Regions from separate parts of the Homo sapiens genome. Here all the other regions are linked to region 1. The links are contacts of gene promoters, found by promoter capture Hi-C in blood cells and fetal thymus (Javierre and others, 2016). All regions are on one chromosome and are shown on one strand. The core of a region is centred on a gene start or on the middle of the fragment in contact, and the rest is flanking DNA. Distances in the headings are between cores, read along the strand shown.

Evidence for each region. Contacts are between HindIII fragments. The CHiCAGO score rates a contact against its expected background, and 5 or more counts as called.
Region 2: a contact is called between a fragment that was not itself captured here and the fragment with the promoter of THOC2 in region 1, in 2 of 17 cell types (M1 macrophages and M0 macrophages). The highest score is 5.6, in M1 macrophages.
Region 3: a fragment that was not itself captured here is called in contact with the fragment with the promoter of THOC2 in region 1 in 1 of 17 cell types (M0 macrophages); the score reaches 5.9 in M0 macrophages.

The regions. Positions count from the first base shown.
Region 1 is chrX:123,731,571-123,734,968 of GRCh38, forward strand. THOC2 (THO complex subunit 2) reads right to left here and starts at 1,482. Exons shown (of 39, transcript NM_001081550.2): 1 at 1,382-1,482. The coding sequence starts at 1,452. RefSeq lists an enhancer at 1,418-1,497. The HindIII fragment of the contact is 10,140 bases long and covers 610-3,398 here.
Region 2 is chrX:123,694,908-123,698,305 of GRCh38, forward strand. It overlaps THOC2 (THO complex subunit 2), which reads right to left. Exons shown (of 39, transcript NM_001081550.2): 5 at 2,774-2,844; 6 at 1,814-1,935; 7 at 1,114-1,247. Among named protein-coding and RNA genes, the nearest start is that of THOC2, 36 kb to the right of the region's middle. The HindIII fragment of the contact is 710 bases long and covers 1,298-2,007 here.
Region 3 is chrX:123,767,893-123,771,290 of GRCh38, forward strand. No RefSeq gene overlaps it. Among named protein-coding and RNA genes, the nearest start is that of THOC2, 37 kb to the left of the region's middle. The HindIII fragment of the contact is 1,749 bases long and covers 967-2,715 here.

The DNA.
Region 1 (3,398 bases), core at 232-2,731:
AGTCTTCACAACAATCCTTTGAGTAGAGTACTTATTATTCCCAATTTACTCAAGGGGAAACAGTCCAAGTGGTTAAGGAACTTACCCAAGGTCACTCAGCTACTTAAGTGGCTAAGACAGCCGCTTATTTAGGGAATTCTAGAGCTCACACTGTTAAGACTTCATACAGCAGTGCGGGGGGTGCGGGGGAGGAAGCCACATAGGCTGGCACTATTACAAGCGCGGGATCCGGCAACGCGTTCCTCGTGTTTCGTTCCAAGTAACGAAGTTACAAAGATTTGAATCTTTAGCATGAGCCACGGTAAACTGGCTACTAGAAATGGAGAGGGGTGGGCAAGGACGACAAAAATGGCTAACGAGGGTTAATTTCATCCAGGGTTGAGCTTTAGCATCTAAAAGCGACCCAGAGAAGGAAATGAGATGTTATTAATATTTGTTCTTATATCTGAGGTTTGCTTTGCTGCTTAAACGACTCCTTCCAGGGGAAGGGGAGGAGGGAGCGCTCTAACGTGGGGGCGAGAAGACTAGGGGTATGGCAAATTACTGTTTTCGGTGTTACGGGGGAAAGTTTCACGACTAAAGGAAACGCGTTATCCTAGGTACTGGAGAAGCTTGGAGAGCTGCCAGAATTAGTTGCAGTCCCAGGATAAAATGGGGTTTAGGGAACATTTAATGACGAAAGTTGAATCCAACCCGAAATAGCTCTAAGGTGAAAAGACGGAGCAAAGAAATGTCGGTGGTTCTTCAGGGAAAGCGGCAATCCCTGCCACACTTCCCCACGGCGCTACGCGAGGCCGGGACAGTCGAGAGACCGCTCCCCGGGAGGGCGAGAGGTGCCAAACCGGGTTCTTCGCGGCGCCCCGGGCTTCGCGGCAGCGGGCGAAGAGGAGGGGAGGGGAATCCGGGACGGTTCGCCCTCCTTGGACTTCAGGCAGAGGAGGCGCCAAGCTCCAAACTGCGGAGTCCAACGGGTGCAGAGTGAAGAAATGGCACAGAGAGAGATGGAAAGTCCGAATTGCCCCGGCTCAGCCCCATAAAGATAAAGGAGCCAAGTGAGATCAAGCGAAGAGGGGGACACAAAAAGAGACCAAGAGGGAGCGCGGAGACCTGCAGGGGCGGAATAAGAGTTCTACTAAGAGGCTAAAGGAAGCCGAGCTACCGCAGGCAGTAGCGATTTCTGGGAGGCCAGGGAAGGAAGGAGGTCCGCGGCGGTAAACAGCACCTCTCCCCGAGTTCGAAACTCCTAGACGACCATCCACGCCCGCCGCCCGGGTGGGGGAGGGGGTACATCTTTCCCCCTCAACCTCCCACTACAGGTGAGAGTGCAGCTGACGCCCTGGCCCGGCCCGGCAGTGCGCCTGCCTCCGGCCCGAACACTCACAATTCGCCTCTCCCTGATTTCTCCCAGTTCTTTATCCACTCTGCGGGAACCACCACAGCCGCGGCCGCCATCTTCCTCTCACTAGTAGCAGAAGCCCGGATGTGTAGCACGCGAGCGAAGGGTCAAAGGGGAGCACCGCCCACGAGGAATGCCGGGAGCTGAGAGTTCGTTTTTCGATTTCCCGCCCCACTTTCCTCTCCACCCAGCGGAAACCCGAGGCAAGGCAGCCAACGACGTGGAGACTCGCGGGCCCCTTTGCGAGGTTACTACACGGGTTGCGCCCTCCGAAGTCTTCGGCCTTACTTCCCATTAGAACAGAGAAATGCCATCCACAGGCCAACAAGTAGACTTCATCTTCTTCCGTAATATCTACCCCTAACCACTAATACAAACACGCATTTTTCAAGCACCTAATATGTGCTAGACACTGGGAATAGAGAAATAATAGTCTTTGGGAAAGCCATAAATATAAGCAAATAAATTACATTACGCCCTGCTGACTGCTGAGATAAAAGAAAATAATCGGGTCCCTCTCCTTCTCCCTCTCCCTCTCCCGTCTCCCTCTCCCGTCTCCCTCTCCCCACGGTCTCCCTCTCCCTCTCTTTCCACAGTCTCCCTCTGATGCCGAGCCAAAGCTGGACTGTACTGCCATCTCGGCTCACTGCAACCTCCCTGCCTGATTCTCCTGCCTCAGCCTGCCGAGTGCCTGCGATTGCAGGTGCGCGCCGCCACGCCTGACTGTTTTTCGTATTTTTTTGGTGGAGACGGGGTTTCGCTGTGTTGGCCGGGCTGGTCTCCAGCTCCTAACCGCGAGTGATCCGCCAGCCTCGGCCTCCCGAGGTGCCGGGATTGCAGACGGAGTCTCGTTCACTCAGTGCTCAATGGTGCCCAGGCTGGGGTGCAGTGGCGTGATCTCGGCTCGCTGCAACCTCCACCTCCCAGCCGCCTGCCTTGGCCTCCCAAAGTGCCGAGATTGCAGCCTTTGCCCGGCCGCCACCCCGTCTGGGAAGTGAGGAGCCTCTCTGCCTGGCCGCCCATCGTCTGGGATGTGAGGAGCCCCTCTGCCTGGCTGCCCAGTCTGGAAAGTGAGGAGCGTCTCTGCCCGGCCGCCATCCTGTCTAGGAAGTGAGGAGCGTCTCTGCCCGGCTGCCCATCGTCTGGGATGAAGTGAGGAGCGTCTCTGCCTGGCCGCCCATCGTCTGAGATGTGGGGAGTGCCTCTGCCCCGCCGCCCCGTCTGGGATGTGAGGAGCGCCTCTGCCCGGCCGCGACCCCGTCTGGGAGGTGAAGAGCGTCTCTGCCCGGCCGCCCCGTCTGAGAAGTGAGGAGACCCTCCGCCCGGCAGCCGCCCCGTCTGAGAGGTGAAGAGCGTCTCCGCCCGGCCGGCCGCCCCGTCCGGGAGGGAGGTGGGGGGGTCGGCCCCCCGCCCGGCCGGCCGCCCCGTCCGGGAGGTGACGGGCGCCTCTGCCCGGCCGCCGCTACTGGGAAGTGAGGAGCCCCTCTGCCCGGCCACCACCCGGTCTGGGAGGTGTACCCAACAGCTCATTGAGAACGGGCCATGATGACAATGGCGGTTTTGTGGAATAGAAAAGGGGGAAAGGTGGGGAAAAGATTGAGAAATCGGATGGTTGCTGTGTCTGTGTAGAAAGAGGTAGACATGGGAGACTTTTCATTTTGTTCTGTACTAAGAAAAATTCTTCTGCCTTGGGATCCTGTTGATCTATGACCTTACCCCCAACCCTGCGCTCTCTGAAACATGTGCTGTGTCCACTCAGGGTTAAATGGATTAAGGGCGGTGCAAGATGGGCTTTGTTAAACAGATGCTTGAAGGCGGCAGGCTCGTTAAGAGTCATTACCACTCCCTAGTCTCAAGTACCCAGGGACACAAACACTGCAGAAGGCCGCAGGGTCCTCTGCCTAGGAAAACCAGAGATCTTTGTTCACTTGTTTATCTGCTGACCTTCCCTCCACTATTGTCCTATGACCCTGCCAAATCCCCCTCTGCGAGAAACACCCAA
Region 2 (3,398 bases), core at 403-2,902, 36 kb before region 1:
GCTTGAGCCCATGAGTTCAAGACCAGCCTGGGCATAGCGAGACCCCGTCTCTTAAAAAATAAATAAACAAAAATTTAAAAAATAAACTAAAAGCTACTTACTTGTTGGTAAGAACAAAGGTGATTATAGTAAATATAGTTTTAATTGGATTCCTACACAAAGCACTAGAGGAAGGAGATAAGGATTGGGACACCTTCTCCCTCTTTCTTAGTCATATATAAACTCCAAAAAAAGAGAAAGAACCAAGAAGCTGAGGATAAGCACCCCTAAGATACAACTAGTGAGGCACAAAATATGACTCCTCTGGCAGGTCTCAAGACCCAGGTACTGCAAAATCTTCCCTAAGATAGCACAACACCTAGTAAATAATAAAAAAACTCTTTCCACCTCAGGAAAATCTGGATTACCCTATTTTTCTAGTGCTCATTCATCTTTTTTACAGAAGTCAACTACTTCTTCCAAATGCTCAATGCAAATAAAAAGAAAACAGTAATGCTACAGGAATTCTACTTAAAGGGTAGGGAGAATAATAACTTTCCTATCTGTTACACTTTTACAACAGCTGTTGCACTTACTTTAAAAGGCTACTATAAAGATAAAATAAGTATCAAAGTCCCTTGTAAAGTTATTTTGAAAATCAAGTTCAAAATTACACATCTGTAGTTTCAAAAGTTCACTGAAGATTTACTGTATTAAAGTTTTCATGTTTGCTTTTTGGTCCTCCATAAAATGGTTGAGAAATACTTAAAAATAGAAATACTAGAGAAACGTAGGGCACTCTATCAGAACAGTCCATCCTGTTCTTTGTCATCCATTCTCTTTTGAAAGTGTTGGCTTACCACTCAGGATCCCCTCCACAAAAAAGAAAGACTAGACAGAGCAGGACCTAATATTAACATACAAGGTATAGTGACAATAAGATTTCTCACAAATATCATGCTAAATTTTATAATTATTGATAAACCATTAAAAGTAAAAGCTAAACACCTCTCCCATTCCTTAACTGAAAAAAAAAATAGATGGAATGCACTCATTTTGTCTTTATGGATATTCTCCAATAGCTAAAATAACTTGTTATCTTAACAACACATACTATACAGATAAATGTCTTACCTATTAAAGATTTGATATTTTCTAAGATTAAATCACTAGTAATACTTCCAGATAAATCTTGCCCCAATTCAGCAATCAGCTTGGCATAACCTTCATTCTCTTCTCTTAACAAATTGAATTTTTGCTGCTTATAACTGAAATCAGATAAATATCATTAAGGGGATAAAATTAATTTTAATTAACAAGCTTGCACAGAGTACTGTATTCTCACTGAATTTTCTTATCTCCAACCTACAACAATCCTAAGAATAGTTGTTGAAAGTTTACCTCTTTGTGTACCTTTTAGAGTAGAAAATAACAGTGATTCATATGAGAACCCCAATATTAATTACATAGGGAAAACCAGTAACACAAGAAAAGGATATTGTTAATATCAGGGAACAATAACATATCACCATTTCCATCTCTAAGAATATACCCTGAGTATAGCCACAGTCATAAATTATTTTATTGCTAATGATGAAAGCATGAGTATTATTTTAACTTTGAATATGGGCAAAAGTAACAATGGTTTTGCACAGGTAAAGATCACTGATGACTCAATATTAGGCTACTTTTAGAAGGCAAAAAACACAAGACATGCTAACCACAAACAAAAAAAACAATCTTCAAAGTCCCCTTAGAAGCTACTAGGATTCAAAATATGAACGAAAAAACATACTCAGATACTTGATCTGCAACATAAGATACGTGTACTTACAAGAGTTTTGTCTTGATTTTAACTGACTTTTGATTGAATTGCTGTGATTGTTTGATAAGCCCTAATGATTCCAGTGTTTCTGGATCCAGGCGTTCCTTTAGAACTGTGTCTGAAACTAAATACTGTATTAAAAAATATTAAAGGTCATTTATTCCTTAGCATTGCATCCACAATGTTAAATATATTCAAACTAAAGCTTCCTAAATAAGAATACAAAAATAACATTCTCTACATAACAACCTACAATTTATAAAAAGGCTTAGAAGTTCAATTTAACAAATATTGACTCCAAATATTGAAATATTTAATAAACGGCTTTCAAAAAATTCACTATAAAATTATATGCATGTTGTATACTGCCTATAAATGACAAGAACTACAGATGAAATTTTCAATATGACTGCATTTGGCTTATCTGGACTTTCACCTAATACAGCACTTAATAGCCTCCTACTTTAAGTTAAATTCTAGTATAGCAAAGACAAGCACCTTCTTCCAGGTCTCAACCACGGCAGTTCTCCCTGGTTCTAAATTTATGAACACAAATGGTTTACCAGACAACAATCATGGCAAGTTCTAGAATTTATCATTTTTAAACTACCTCTATTCTTTTACTCTTTGCTTAACAGTTTATGAGGAAAAAAATCCATTTAAAAGCTGTCTACAATCATTTCTACTTACTTTATAAATGCTTACCTTTTTCTTAGGAACTTACTAGGTCAGGAATATCACCAAAGGTTTTAAATGTATAGATAGTTTAAGTGATATGGATATGGTTACATGCTTATTTCACAGAAACAGCATGTCTTATTTCACAAAACATTCCATTTCAAAACCCAAATCTCACCTTATGAGAAAAGTCAACTGAATGTCAATATCCTCCTTCATTAACATGATTAACTTCTATTACAACTGTTTAATGCAGATTTTTAAAAGGGAAAAATATTTTTAAAAACTTACCAAACATGCTAATACCAACTGTGTAAAATAGTCTCTCTTGCTTTTTTCTTCTAAACAATTTGTCTCAATGTCTATAATGATGAAGAAGAAAAAAGTTTGATTGATTTGTCTAGACTCCCCAGCACTAAAGTAAGATACTTATTTTATTTGAAACTAACTAATTTTAAAATGCCTCAATCTGAATTTGGAAAAATTCAAAACTATGGTAACATGAGATGTTATATGAATGCTTTAATTTCTCCTAAAACTGGAGATTGACCCTGTGACCTATGACAGATCCATAAAACAGTACATCAACTACACTGGAGCTACCTGCTATGGCACTGGAAGCAACAAAGCTTCAAAAACTATTGTTCGCAAAAAATGAAACATTCAAACAAAGTTTAAATGACCACTTGTCAGAGATGCTAAAAAAAAAAAAAAAAGATTATTTTAGGTGGAAAGTTGAACAGGGTTATAACAAAGATTTCTTCTAACTCTAAAGAGCCTAATACTCAGGCTGGGCGCAGTGGCTCACGCCTGCAATCCCAGCACTTTGGGAGGCCAAGGCGGGCGGATCATGAGGTCAGGAGTTCAAGACCAGCCTGACCAACATGGTGAAACCCTGTCTCTACTAAAAATGCAA
Region 3 (3,398 bases), core at 591-3,090, 37 kb after region 1:
TCCACCTGCCTCAGCCTCCCAAAGCTCTGGGGTTTTGTTGTTGTTGTTGTTGTTTTGTCTTGTTTTTTAGAGACAGGTTCTAGCTCTGTCACCCAGGCTAGAGTACAGTGGCACAATCACGGCTCACTGCAGCTTTGACCTCCCAGGCTCAAGCAACCCTCCCACATCAGCCTCTAAAGTACAGGAATGCACCACCATGCTTGGCTACTTTTTTTTTTTTTGGAGATGGGGTCTCACTATGTTGCCTAGGCTTTGATCTTGAACAAAATTTTTGTAGAGACAGGAGTCACGCTATGTTGCCCAGACTGGTATCAAACTCCTGGTCTCAAGCAATCCTCCCACCTTGGCTTCCCAAAGCACTGAGAGTACAGGCACAAGCCATTGCACCCAGCCGTGATCTAGGGGTATCTAGGAGACTGTTCCTCAGTTTTTAAGTAGTAAAGATATTTTGACCATCTTCAATTATTTATTTTAAATTTTACTGGATTATAATGAGAATGTGTTGCCTCTACAAATCTCTGCTTCTTTAAATTCATGAAGTTTTCCTCTGTGAAGAAGCACACAGTTGATAGACATTAGAACATAATTTACATTAAAAATTTTTTTTCCGAGTTCCCAAGACCTGGAAAACAAAATAGTTTACATTTTAAAATGCGTGTGGAAATATACATATATATGATTATATGTTGAACTTGTTTGTCACATTATTCAGTCATCTATTTTCTAGCTTATTTTTCATCTACTTGATCATTCAAGTTCTGAAGGAGATATATTATAATCTCCCATTATGGTGGTGGTTTTCTATCAAAATCTTCTTGGGTTTCTGAGAGTTTGCTGTAAATATTAAGCTGTGATACTTCAGTACATAAAAGTTTGTGATTCATCACTTCAACAAGGATTGAACCATTTATGCCCCCTTTTCGTCTTAATGCATTTGATCTTGAATTCCACTTTTTTTTTTAATAAAGCTTGATGGCTTAAGCAACACATTTATAACCTCACAGTTTCTGTGAAGCCTAGAGTCCTGACCTAACTGGGTCTTCTGCTTCAGATTCTCTATAAGATTGCAATCAAGGTGTCCATTTAGGGTCTTTCACAGGCTGCAATCAAGGTGTCAGCTGGGGCTGCAGTCTTATCTCAAGGCTCACTGTGACAGGATGCACTTCCAAGATCACTCAAATCATTGCTGGAAGGATTCAGCTCCTTGCTGGCTGTTGGACTAAAGGCCCCAGTTCCTTGCCAGGGGGCCCTCTGCATCAGCGTAATCACTTAGGAAGAGCCAGAGACAGAATATGAGCAAGACACAGAAGCTACAGTCTTTTGTAACCTAACTATGAAAGTGACATCTCATCATTTTTGCCATGGCTCATTTGTTACAAGCAAGTCGCTGGGTCCAACACAAGAGGAGGGATTTACAAGAGGGTGAATATTGAAGAGGTGAGGATCATTGGGAGCCATTTTAGAAGCAGCCTACTACAGCTTGGTGCAGGATTTTTTTTTTTTTTTTTTGAGATGGAGTTTCACTCTTGTCACCCAGGCTGGAGTTCAATGGCACAATCTCAGCTCACTGCAACCTCTGCTTCCCGGGTTCAAGCGATTCTCCTGCCTCAGCCTCCTGAGTAGCTGGGATTACAGGTGTGCGCCACCATGCCCAGCTAATTTTTGTATTTTTAGTAGAGACGGGGTTTCACCATGTTGGCCAGGCTGGTCTCAAACTCCTGACCTCAGGTAATCCACCCACCTCGTCCTCCCAAAGTGCTGAGAATTATAGGCGTGAGCTACCTCGCCTGGCCTGGTACAGGATTTTTAGTTAGGAGTTCTTTTCTCCCAATTTTCTGCAGATGGTATTCCACTGTTTTCTACCTTTCTGTGTTGTAGATTTTTAAAACACAAAAAAACTAGCCAGGCATGGTGGTGCACACCTGTAGTTCCAGCTACTTGGGAGGATGAGGCAGGAGGATCACCTGAGCCTGGACATGTTGAGGCTGCAGTGACCTGTGATCATGCCACAGCACTCCAGCCTGGGTGACAGAGTGAGACCCTGAAAAAAAGTAAGAAAGAGAGAGAGAGAAGGAAGGAAGGAAGGAAGGAAGGAAGGAAGGAAGGAAGGAAGGAAGGAAGGAAGAAAGGAAGGAAGGAAAGGAAAGAAAGAAAAGAAAGAAAGAAAAAGAAAGAAAGAAAGAGAAAGAAAGAACAAAGACAAGACAAGACTGGGCTCGGTGGCTCACGCCTGTAATCCCAGCACTTTGGGAGACCGAGGCGGGCGGATCACGAGGTCAGGAGATCGAGACCATCCTGGCTAACACGGTGAAACCCTGTCTCTACTAAAATTACAAAAACTTAGCCAGGCGTGGTGGCAGGTGCCTGTAGTTCCAGCTACTCAGGAGGCTGAGGCAGGAGAATGGCGTGAACCTGGGAGGCGGAGCTTGCAGTGAGCCGAGATGGCGCCACTGCACTCCAGCCTGGGAGCGAGACTCTGTCAAAAAAAAAAAAAAAAAGAAGAAGAAGAAAAGAAGAAAGAGAGAAAGAGAGAGAGAGAAATAAATAAATAAATAAATAAATAAATAAATAAATAAATAAAGTGGTGTTACCAGAGCCCAAGAATCTGGGTTATCCAGCGCAAGCCTGTCTGGCAGGATCTGGGGTTATAGAGGAGCTGCAACCAGTACCAGACATATTACCCAAGACAGAGAGGAAGTTCTACAGAAATGTCCAAGCTTCTCCCTGTTCCCAGTCTTCAGCCTTTTACCAGTGCCTCCCAGTGGCCAAAGCTAGCTGGAAGCTAGAATGTGTTCTTTCTGTTTGGAAACTTACAAGGTTTTCTCTTTATACTTGGAATTCAAGGATTTCACAAGGATAAATTTTGATGTGTGTCTCTTTTCATTATCATTCATAAGACTCAGTGAACACTTTTAATCTGCGAACCCAAATCTTTCTTCAACTCAGGGAAATTTTCTTTTTTTTTTGAGACGGAGTCTTGCTCTGTCACCCAGGCTAGAGTGCAGTGGCGTGATGTCAGCTCACTGCAACCTCCGCCTCCCAGGTTCAAGTGATTCTCCTGCCTCAGCCTCCCAAGTAGCTGGGATTACAGGCGCCCACCACCGCGCCCGGCTAATTTTTGTATTTTTAGTAGAGACGGGGTTTCACCGTCTTGGCCAGGCTGGTCTCGAACTCCTGACCTCAGGTGATCCACCCGCCTCGGCCTCCCAAAGTGCTGGGATTACAGGCGTGAGCCATCGCGCCCAGCCCGGAAATTTTCTTCTATTATTTATCTAGTTAGGTTTTCGCTTTCTTATATTCACTTTATCCTTCTGGACTCCTGTCATTTTCACAACAGATCTCCTGAGTTTCTTAATCCTCAATGATTTCTATTTCTTTACATTTTTGTTCTCTGTTGA